Regions from separate parts of the Homo sapiens genome. Here region 1 is linked to region 2. Evidence: promoter capture Hi-C in 16 types of primary human blood cells and fetal thymus (Javierre and others, 2016). All regions are on one chromosome and are shown on one strand. Each heading gives the region's core, a stretch centred on a gene start or on the middle of the fragment in contact. The rest is flanking DNA. Distances are from core to core; before and after follow the strand shown. Region 1 overlaps PRORP (protein only RNase P catalytic subunit). Region 2 holds the start of INSM2 (INSM transcriptional repressor 2).

Region 1 (5,421 bases), core at 1,431-3,930, 390 kb before region 2:
CAGGCATGCGCCACCAAGCCTGGCTAATTTTGTATTTTTAGTAGAGATGGGGTTTCTCCATGTTGGTCAGGCTGGTCTCAAACTCCCGACCTCAGGTGATCCGCCCACCGCAGCCTCCCAAAGTGCTGGGATTACAGGCGTGAGTCACCGCGCCCGGCCAAAGACAGGTAGTTTTTTAAATAAGTGGCAAAAAAAAAACCCTTATATTTAGAATTAGCTATTCGGACTCAGTTTAGGTTATCCCAGTTTTACTGGCAACATCCAAAACATCATAGTTAGGAGCCAGTCAAACATAGGCTGCCTTCTCTCCATCAGTCCTGATTAGGGTGTTGATCGTGGTCATGTCAGTGTCACAGACCTTCATATAGCCTGTTTGATCTGGTGCTTGTTGGCTTTGATAACCACAGTGAACACAGATGTGGTATTGTCTTCTTCATGGTCAGCTCAGTGGTCAAGGGGAACTTGATGGCATAATAGTCCAGCTTGTATATCCTGCAGGTTCTCTACTGAGGATGTTTGGGCTACCTTCAAAGCCAAAGTGTGTTGGGCTACTGGAACATAGGTGACCTGCAGATATTTTTTTGTGTGTGTGACTGGATGCCTTTCAACACTGCCTTGCTGGCCTTAAAAGCCTTAGCTTTGGATTTGGCTTTGGGAGGAGCAGGGATTTCCTTCTTTGCTTTCAGCATCATCATTTTGGTGAAAAGGGTTGACACCTGGATTTTTATATCTATTTCTATATTCAGTCTGTTGTGGTATGGTATGGCGTTTTGGTAGAAGCATATGAAGAAAATGAAAGCTCATGGAAATAGGTAGTTGGAAAGCAAAGAGGATTTTGTTGGCTCTTGGAGATAATCATAATCGTTCTTTGATACTATGCCCAAACTCTACTGTACACTTGTGAGCAAATGAGAGTGAAAAAGGCATATAACGTCTTAGCATTATGAAAATAGTTTTAACTTTGCAGATCCCCTGAGAGGGTCTTGGGGATACCCAGCAGTCCTTGAACCACAGTTTTAGAAAGTACTCTGGTTTAGATATGATTTTCTTTTTCTTTCTATTGTAAAAGTTCAAGTAAAGTTTATTTCCCTCTATCTTATTACACAAGCATATTAACAAAGGAAGCTAAAACAAAGACAGCAGTCTCAGTACTCAGTATATTTTCTATTAGTTTCTTATGTTCTTTTTTAGTTCTTTTGTTTGTTTTAAGAGACCCTTGTCACCCAAACTAGAGTGCAGTGGCGTGATCATAGCTCATTGCAGCCTCAACCTCCCAGGCTCAAGTGATCCTCTCACCTTAGCCTCTTGAGTAGCTAAGACTACAGGCACACACCACCACGACCAGCTAATTTTTTAATTTTTTGTAGAGATGGGGGATCTCACTTTGTTGCCTGGGCTTGTCGTGAACTCCTGGGCTCAAGTAATCCTCCAACCTTGGCCTCCCAAAGGGCTGGGATTACAGGCGTGAGCTACTGCACCTGGTGCTTTTTTAGTTCTTATTGAGACTTCTTAATCATTTTCTTTTACTTTTCAAAATGGAAGTGGGTTTTATCCTGATTATAATATTTATTAATTATAAAAAATTTCATCAACACCTGTGAAAAGGGGAAAATTTTTTTTTTGGTCAAAATAGCTATAAAGAAAGATAAAAGGCCGGGCGCAGTGGCTCACGCCTGTAATCTCAGCACTTTGGGAGGCCGAGGCAGGCAGATCATAAGGTCAAGAGATCAAGACTATCCTGGCTAACATGGTGAAACCCCGTCTGTACTAAAAATACAAAAATTAGCTGGGCATGGTGGCATGCGTCTGTAGTCCCAGCTACTGAGGAGGCTGAGACAGGAGAATTGCTTGGACCTGGGAGGCGGAGGTTGCAGTGAGCTGAGATCGCGCCACTGCACTCCAGCCTGGCGACAGAGCGAGACTCCATCTCAAAAAAGAAAGAAAGAAGGAAGGAAGGAAGGAAGGAAGGAAACAGCCCACCATGATCCATTCATTTTGAACTTTAATTTTATTTGATTATTTATTTATTTATTTATTTATTTATTTTTTTATTTTTTGAGACAGAGTTTTGTTCTTGTTGCCCAGGCTAGAGTGCAATGGCACCGTCTCGGCTCACTGCAACCTCCGCCTCCCGGGTTCAAGCGATTCTCCTGCCTCAGCCTCCCAAGTAGCTGGGATTACAGGCGCCTGCCACCACACCCGGCTAATTTTTTTATATTTTTAGTAAAGAAGGGGTTTCACCATGTTGGCCAGGCTGGTCTCAAACTCCTGACCTCAGGTGATCCGCCCGCCTCGGCCTCCCAAAGTGCTGGGATTACAGGTGTGAGCCGCCGCACTCAGCCCCATTTTGAACTTTTAATGAAACTTTAATCATAATCACAGTCCCCATAATTCTGTGATTTAGAAGTTTTTAAATAAAGCTTTAATGATTTAGGATTCTCCTTTCTGGAAAAGAAAAAAAGGCAGGCAAATTGCCCGTGGTACATTTAATTGAGTTTTTAGGGTTAAGTTTAAAGCAAATCATTTGTCCTGCTTGATAGTATCTCTTCAGTTTATTGACAAAGAGGTGTTTCTCTAAATACAAATTTAAGACAGGACATATGACCCTAATGAAATGTCAGTATAAGAACTTATCTAATTTAGGTCTTTAGGGATTTTTTTTTCTTTATTTGGTTACAAACTGAAAGATGTGAACTGAGCTCTTTATCACAGTCTCCAGAACCTTCTCTTTTCTCTGGGTTTGAAGATCTTGTCATCTCTAAAATGAACTGTGGGTTTTTTTCCCCAGATTTAAATAAATGTTGTGTGGTAAATGGAAAACTTTGTGGGTTTAGTGATTTTTTAAAAATCTGAGAAAGAAATTTAATTATCTGCAAAATATAGTTTTAAACCATGTGTTTTAAAGTACAGGCATACCTTGAAGACATTGCAAGTTTGGTTCTAAGCTTTATCGTAAATATTGCAATAAAGTGAGTCACACAAATTTTTTGGTTACCCAGGTCGTATAAAAGTTATCTTTCCATGGCTGGATATGGTGGCTCACACTTGTAATCCCAGTGCTTTGGGGCCCAGGCAGGAACATTGCTTGAGGCCAGGAGTTCGACACCAGCCCGGGGAACATAGTGAGATCCCATCTCTACAAAAAAATTTTTTTTTTAGTTAGCTCGGCTTGGTGGTGTGTACCTGTAGTCCTAGCTACTTTGGAAGGCTGAGTTTGTAGGATCACTCAAGCCCAGGAGTTCAAGGTTACAATGAGTTGTGATTGTGCCACTGAACTCCAGCCTGGGAGACAGAGTGAGACTCTGCCTCTAAACAACAACAAAACTTATCTTTCCACTATGCTGTAGACTATTAAGTGTGCAATAGCATTATGTCTAAAAAAATATATATAGATACCTTAATTTAAAAATACCTTATTGCTAAAAAATATGCTGGTGGTCATCTGAGCCTTCAGCAAGTTGTAATCTTTTTGCTGATGGCAAGTCTTGCCTTGATGTTGGTGGCTGCTGACTGATCAAAGTGGTGGTGTTTGTTGAAGGCTGGGATAGCTATGACAATTTCTTTATTTTTTTGAGACAGGGTCTCACTCTGTCACCCAGGCTGGAGTGCACTGGCAAGATCATGGCTTACTGTAGCCTCCACTTCTCAGGCTCACATGATCCTCCCACCTCAGCCTCCTGAGTAGCTACAACTACAAGCTCACATGACCATGTCTAGCTAATTTTTTCTAATTTTTTGTCGAGCTGGGGTTTTGCCACATTGCCCAGGCTGGTCTTGAACTCCTGGGCTCAAACGATCCACCCACCTCAGCCTCCCAACATGCTGGGATTACAGGCATGAGCCACTGTGTGGCAATTTCTTAAAATAAGACAATAATGAAGTTTGCCACATAAATTGACTCTTCTTATCACAAAATATTTTTCTGCAGCATGCAGTGCTTTTTGAAAGCATTTTACCACATTAGAACTTTTTTCAAAATTGGAGTCAATCCTCTGAAATCCTGCTGCTGCCTTGTCAACTAAGTTTACGTAATATTCTAAATTCTTTGTTATCATTTTAACAATATTTACAACGTGTCTACTAGGAGTGAGTTTTATTTCAAGAAACCACTTTCTTTGCTAATCCATAAGAAGAAATTCCTAATCCAAGTTTTATTTTGTGATTGAAGCAATTCAGTCACATCTTCAGGCTCCACTTCTAATTCTAGTTCTCTTGCTATTTCCACCATATCTGCAGTTCCTTCTTCCACTGAAATTTTGAATCCCTCCGAGTCATCCATGAGGGTTGGTGTCAACTTCTTCCAAACCTGTTACTGTTGATATTTCAACCTCTTTCCATGAATCACAAATGTTCTTAGTGGCATGTAGATCGGTGAATCCTTTCCAGAAAGTTTTCCGTTGACTTTGCCCAAATCCTTCAGAGCAATCACTGTCTATGACAGCTATAGCCTTACAAAACATGTTTTTCAAATAATAAGACTAGAAAGTCGAATTTACTCTTTTATCCATGGGCTTTAGAATGGATGTTGTGTTGGTAGACATGAAAACAACTTTCATCTCCTTATACATCTCCATAAGAGCTCTTGGGTGACTAAGTGCATTGTCACTGAGCAATAATATTTTGAAGAGTCTTTTTTTTGGAGCAGTAGGTCTCCACAGTGGGCTTGAAATATTCAGTAAACCATGCTGTAGACAGATGTGCTGTTAGCCAGGCTTTGTTCCATTGATAGAGCATAGGCAGAGGAGATTCAGCATAATTGTTAAGGACTCTAAGATTTTTGGAATGGTAAACGGGCATTGACTTCAATAAAGTCACCAGCTGTATTAGCCCATAACAAGAGAGTCAGCCTGTCCCTTGAAGTTTTGAAGTCAAGCATTGACTTCTCTCTAGCTATGAAAATTCTAGATGGCATCTTCTTCCAATAGAAGGGGCTGTTTTGTCTCCACGGAAAATCTGTTGCTTAGTGTAGCCACCTTCATCAGTGATCTTAGATCTTCTGGATAGCTTGCTGCAGCTTCTACATGAGTACTTGCTGCTTCACCTTGCACTTTTTTTGTTTTTTGTGTTGGTTCCACCAGTCTGTGCCCATAACCTCCCAGCAGCCTACATGTTGCACTTTTTAATTTTTTTTTTTTTTTTTTTTTTTTTGAGACGGAGTCTCGCTCTGTGGCCCAGGTGGGAGTGCAGTGGCGCAATCTCGGCTCACTGCAAGCTCCGCCTCCCAGGTTCACGCCATTCTCCTGCCTCAGCCTCCCGAGTAGCTGGGACAACAGGCGCCCGCCACCACGCCCGGCTAATTTTTTTGTATTTTTAGTAGAGATGGGGTTTCACCGTGTTAGCCAGGATGGTCTCGATCTCCTGACCTCGTGATCCGCCCGCCTCGGCCTCCCAAAGTGCTGGGATTACAAGCGTGAGCCACCG
Region 2 (5,545 bases), core at 2,261-4,760:
AGGGACAATGGGCCTGTAGTAGCTGCAGCTGGTGTTAACCTTTTACAGGGACATGTCTAAGTGGAGGTGAGGGGGCAGAGAAACAGAAGAAATAAAGTTCCTTCTGAGTAATCTCCCAGATATTCAAGTGATAAAAAGCAGGTTAGTCATCTGAGCCTGTCTTATACACACTGATTTCAGGGCAAGAAGAAGTCTCCTCTCTCTTCAAAAAATGTTCCGATTTCTATTGTCTCAAAATTTCTGAATTTAAATTAAATGTATCCCGCAATTAGAGAAAGCAGAAAATGTAAATAGCTTGAGAGATAATCCAGTGCGTATGAGTTTTTACCAAAGTATAACTGAGAGCAGATGAAGGTCCTGAATGTTTAATCTTTTTGTGAAGAGAAAGGAGGTAGATATTAAATAAAACAAAGATTTTATAATCTTGCTTTGGCAATGCCCTATTTATCGTAATTTTTAAGTGAGAAACTACAGAAAGAGTGTTTGTATCTTGAAGGATCATCTAAGTTTATACCCAAGGGGGGATTACGCATTTAAATTCTTTCTCTTCCCCACATTTTAATCCTTTCTATCTTTTAACCCTTAGTCTTTTCCCAAAAGTGTTCTTCAACTAGAAGGCCTGTGGCATGATTGAGGCTTGTCAACTCTCTTCTAGGGCCAGATTTCAAACAGATGGCCCTGGAGAATGCTACTTATCTGTACAGTTCTCCATTTGATGTTGCAGTGTGCTAGTATCCTAGGGGAAGGGTACCACATTTAACTCCAGAAAGGATTTAAGGCAGTTTTGCAATTTTTTTTTTTCTGATTATCAGAGTAATATACGATTATTGCAAAATATTTTAACAAAAAAGTTAAAAAAAGACTATTTGAATTCCTACTTACTAGAGGCAATCCCAACAACATTTTGGCATATTTCCTTCCACTGTCTTATATGCATTTCGTTTTTTTCATAACTGAGCTCTTTATTGTACAAGCAACTTTTGCTGCCTGCTGTTTTTGCTTAGTTATGGTATATATGTTTGTCTCTATCATTACATTTTTAAAGCTACGTAATCATCTATAACACGGCTATACTATAGTTTACTCAAGATGGTTTCTGATTATTTATAATTACAAATAACACTGTGATAAACAGCTTTGTGCATAAATCTTCGCTCTTCTTTTGGATGACTTACTAAAGGAGGAATTGGTAGATTAAATGTATACATACTTTTTAAAGCTTCTGATGTAAATTGTTACAATGATTTCCAGAAAGGATGTTATTAAATTACACTTGGGAAGGGAAGGAGAGAGCTATTGGAACTATCGGATCTGGTAGAAAATATCTGACAGCAATTCTTACAAAGTACTATGCCCCTGGGGAAGAGTCCTTTCTCTCTCTGGAAAAGGGGTTATCTTAAAGTATTAAAATTATTACATCAGATTTTCCACACCACACAATATGTATGGATCATGAGGAGGAAAGGAGAATTGAGAATTTGAGTTAGAAGTCACATATAAGCTGACATGTCAGAAATGACCAATTTGGGAAACTAAGTTTACCAACACTGCTAAAGGACTCAAATATTTTAAACAGTGGTTCAGATATTGTGATTATGCAGTATCAGGTTTATTTAATTTTGTATCATTTCATGCTATTTAATGAGACAATATAATGAGTGTTTTTCAAACTGTGGGTCCTAATCCATTTGTAAATTATGAAATCAATGTATTTTCTATGACTGCTATTTTTAAGAAACAAAATACAATACAATGAAAAATATGAGAATGCACTGCAAACATTTCAATGTATGATTTCATAATTTACAAATAGATTAGGACCCACAGTATTATTTTGTGAGACTTTTGTTTCAGTTACATGTGTGTATATACTATAGAACACATTTATTATTGTGGGATGTGATTAAGGAAAAAAATAGTTTGAAGCCATTGGTGTAGTGGAAAGAGTCTGGGCTTTGGAATTAGCCAGAACAAGTTTGAATCTGAGCTCTGCTTGGCTTTTACCCATTATCTAACTAAATGGCTCAATCACCACATTGAAAAAAGAGAGAAATAATATCTCCTTTTTGGTTTGTGTGTGTACATGTTGTGTGCGTGTGTATGAAGATTAGAGATTACTTAAGCAGAATGCCTATAACATAGTCAATGATTAATATATAATTACTTCCAAATCTTTCTCAAAATAATGTTCTCCCTGTAAAAATACTTCACTGAAGAAAGACAATGTGTTTTATTGATGACTACATCTGTTATGCTATCGTGTACTTTTAAAACACCTCTGTCAGTCTTTTTCTCCAATTTGGTTTAGTAAGGAGACTTGTGCACATAGTCTTTCCCCTTCCTGTTCTCACACTTTATTTACCTATATTATGGATCTTGGCACTTTATATCTGTCATAGATGGTCTAATTGTTGCCTAGTTCAATTACTACTAAACACTTTCAAACCTCTTCTAGTTCTCAAAATAGTGGTGGGAGCATTGCAGGGTGCCAGATGAAAATCTGTTGAGTTTGCTCTACAGCACACCTTTTGCAAAGTATCACTTGTGGTGTACGGGGAAGCAGCTGTAATGCTGATTCCGCCGGCATTTCTCACTCAATCTACTCCATGCTAAACAGGCCGGTTAGGAATTAAGTCATACTCTGGGTAGTACAAGTGGAAAGTGTGAACAGAGAAACCACTTTATGCGAGGACAGTGGAAAATGAGATCCTCCTTTCCTCTCCCTACTCCTGCTCCTATCGAGAAGCACTTAAGAGCGCAGACGCCCAGGACCCAGCCGCGCTCGGGCGTCCCGACTCGGAGGCTGGCGGCGGGCAGGCACGCTCTCCCGCGCTGAGAGCCCTTCTGCGGAGATGAACTCTCGAGTGTCGCCGCCGCGCGCGGGCCCGATCGATACCGGCGGGCGGACGTGCTCCCGCCGCCGACAGCAGCCACAGGGCGGTGCAGTCAGCTGTCCGGCCGCTCGGTCGCACTTCTCATCAGCTCAATACCCGCAGAGGACGTGCACCGGTTCCCTCCCGGACACCCACCCCGTGGTCTCCGCCGCACCTTCTGCCCACCGCCCCTTCCGCTCGGCCGTCCGGCGCAGAGCGGGAGCTTTTCAGCCAGACGCCCTCGCGTTGGGGGCAGCCGGGTCCCGGCCCGAGCGGAGGGCGTCGTGAGGTGGCCTTTTCGCCCGGCTCCCCAGTGGGACGCTCCGCGGAGGCAGCCAAGGCGGGGAGTGTCGAGCTCCCTCACACTCTGGACCTTACCTTCTGGCGTCTTCGCCCGGGAGGCTGCAGGGGGAGGCGGACCCAGCCGGCCACAGGGGCAGGTTCGCGGCGCTGTGAGGCGGGGCTGGGCGTGCGCCGCCGCCGCCGCCAGATTCGTCTACTCCAGTGAATCGGCACGGGAGAAAGCCCCGCCCCCGGCGCCCGCTCCCACTCCTGATTGGCCGGGCCAGCCCGGGGAGGCCCGGCGGGACCCCGGCCCGCGTCTCAGCTATAAAGATAGCCCCGGCATGACAGCCGCGGCGAAGCTCTTCTAGTTCATCTGCTGGCCGGCTCTCAGTCCCCGTGGCGCCCCCTTTCCTCTTGTCCCAGAGCGCTCTCGACTCCACCATGCCAAGGGGATTCCTGGTGAAGCGAACTAAACGGACAGGCGGCTTGTACCGAGTTCGCCTTGCGGAGCGTGTCTTCCCTCTGCTGGGGCCCCAGGGGGCGCCGCCCTTCTTGGAGGAGGCTCCCAGCGCCTCCTTGCCCGGCGCGGAGCGGGCGACACCCCCCACCCGAGAGGAACCAGGAAAGGGGTTGACGGCGGAGGCGGCCCGGGAACAGTCGGGGTCGCCATGTCGGGCGGCTGGGGTGAGCCCGGGGACGGGCGGGCGGGAAGGCGCGGAGTGGCGGGCGGGTGGCAGGGAAGGTCCCGGGCCCAGCCCCAGCCCCAGCCCCAGTCCAGCGAAGCCGGCAGGCGCAGAGCTGCGTCGGGCGTTCCTGGAGCGCTGCCTCAGCTCGCCCGTCTCCGCCGAGTCTTTCCCCGGGGGCGCCGCCGCCGTGGCCGCTTTCTCCTGCTCCGTGGCGCCAGCAGCCGCACCGACCCCGGGGGAGCAGTTTCTGCTGCCGCTTCGGGCGCCGTTCCCAGAGCCCGCGCTTCAGCCGGACCCTGCGCCCCTCTCGGCCGCCCTTCAGAGTCTGAAGCGGGCGGCCGGCGGCGAGCGCCGCGGCAAGGCACCCACGGACTGCGCGTCTGGACCCGCGGCCGCGGGAATCAAGAAGCCAAAGGCCATGAGGAAGTTGAGCTTTGCCGATGAGGTGACCACATCCCCTGTCCTGGGCCTGAAGATCAAGGAGGAGGAGCCCGGAGCGCCGTCCCGGGGCTTGGGGGGCAGCCGCACGCCACTGGGGGAGTTCATCTGCCAGCTGTGCAAGGAGCAGTACGCAGACCCCTTCGCGCTGGCCCAGCACCGCTGCTCCCGCATCGTGCGCGTAGAGTACCGCTGCCCTGAGTGCGACAAGGTGTTCAGCTGTCCTGCGAACCTGGCCTCCCATCGCCGCTGGCATAAGCCGCGTCCTGCGGCTGCAAACGCCGCCACAGTCTCCTCCGCCGACGGGAAGCCGCCTTCTTCGTCGTCTTCGTCCTCCCGGGACTCCGGGGCCATTGCATCTTTTCTGGCGGAGGGAAAGGAGAACAGCCGAATAGAGCGGACTGCGGATCAGCACCCGCAGGCCAGGGACAGCTCCGGGGCGGATCAGCACCCGGACAGCGCCCCGAGGCAGGGCCTCCAGGTGCTGACGCATCCAGAGCCACCGCTGCCTCAGGGCCCCTACACGGAGGGGGTGTTGGGGCGCCGGGTACCTGTGCCGGGCAGTACCAGTGGTGGCAGGGGATCCGAGATTTTCGTGTGCCCATATTGCCACAAAAAGTTTCGTCGCCAAGCCTATCTGCGCAAGCACCTGAGCACTCACGAGGCGGGCTCGGCCCGTGCGCTAGCGCCGGGCTTTGGCTCCGAACGCGGTGCCCCACTTGCCTTCGCTTGCCCATTGTGCGGAGCGCACTTCCCTACAGCAGATATCAGGGAGAAGCACCGGCTGTGGCATGCTGTCCGCGAGGAGCTGCTCCTGCCCGCTCTGGCGGGGGCTCCTCCCGAAACGTCGGGCCCTAGCGGGCCATCTGACGGGAGTGCCCAGCAAATTTTCTCGTGCAAGCACTGCCCGTCCACTTTTTTTAGCTCTCCAGGGCTGACCCGGCACATCAATAAGTGCCACCCCTCAGAAAGCCGGCAAGTGCTGCTGCTGCAGATGCCACTGCGGCCTGGCTGCTGAGGGACGAGAGACCAGGATGATTTCGAGGTTGGCCTTAGAGGAAACAGATCATGGGAATTTCTGTGGGGCTTTCTTCAACTTGCAAGTTTACTTTCATTCCTTCCTATGTTTTAATCCCCTAAAATTCTCCCTGTAGTCAATGTTCCACCAGAGGAGCGGACAGTGAAATGTAATATCCCTCTCTAGAGCAGGTATGTATATGGTATAAACCTTGAGATCAAAGACTGTCAGCTTTAAATCCTTCT

The links. Contacts are between HindIII fragments. The CHiCAGO score rates a contact against its expected background, and 5 or more counts as called.
Region 1: a fragment that was not itself captured here is called in contact with the fragment with the promoter of INSM2 in region 2 in 1 of 17 cell types (fetal thymus); the score reaches 5.6 in fetal thymus.

Annotation. Positions count from the first base shown.
Region 1 is chr14:35,143,789-35,149,209 of GRCh38, forward strand. The region is part of intron 4 of PRORP (protein only RNase P catalytic subunit); the gene reads left to right. All of the region lies in intron 4 of PRORP-PSMA6 (PRORP-PSMA6 readthrough), which reads left to right. It also overlaps the pseudogene RPL23AP70. Among named protein-coding and RNA genes, the nearest start is that of PRORP, 24 kb to the left of the region's middle. The HindIII fragment of the contact is 525 bases long and covers 2,419-2,943 here.
Region 2 is chr14:35,530,654-35,536,198 of GRCh38, forward strand. It overlaps INSM2 (INSM transcriptional repressor 2), which reads left to right and starts at 3,511. Exons shown (of 1, transcript NM_032594.4): 1 at 3,511-5,545. The coding sequence starts at 3,600. The coding sequence ends at 5,300. RefSeq lists enhancers at 2,305-3,129, 3,130-3,953, 3,954-4,777, 4,458-4,607, 4,778-5,545 and silencers at 2,948-3,027, 3,128-3,497. The HindIII fragment of the contact is 12,180 bases long and covers 1,218-5,545 here.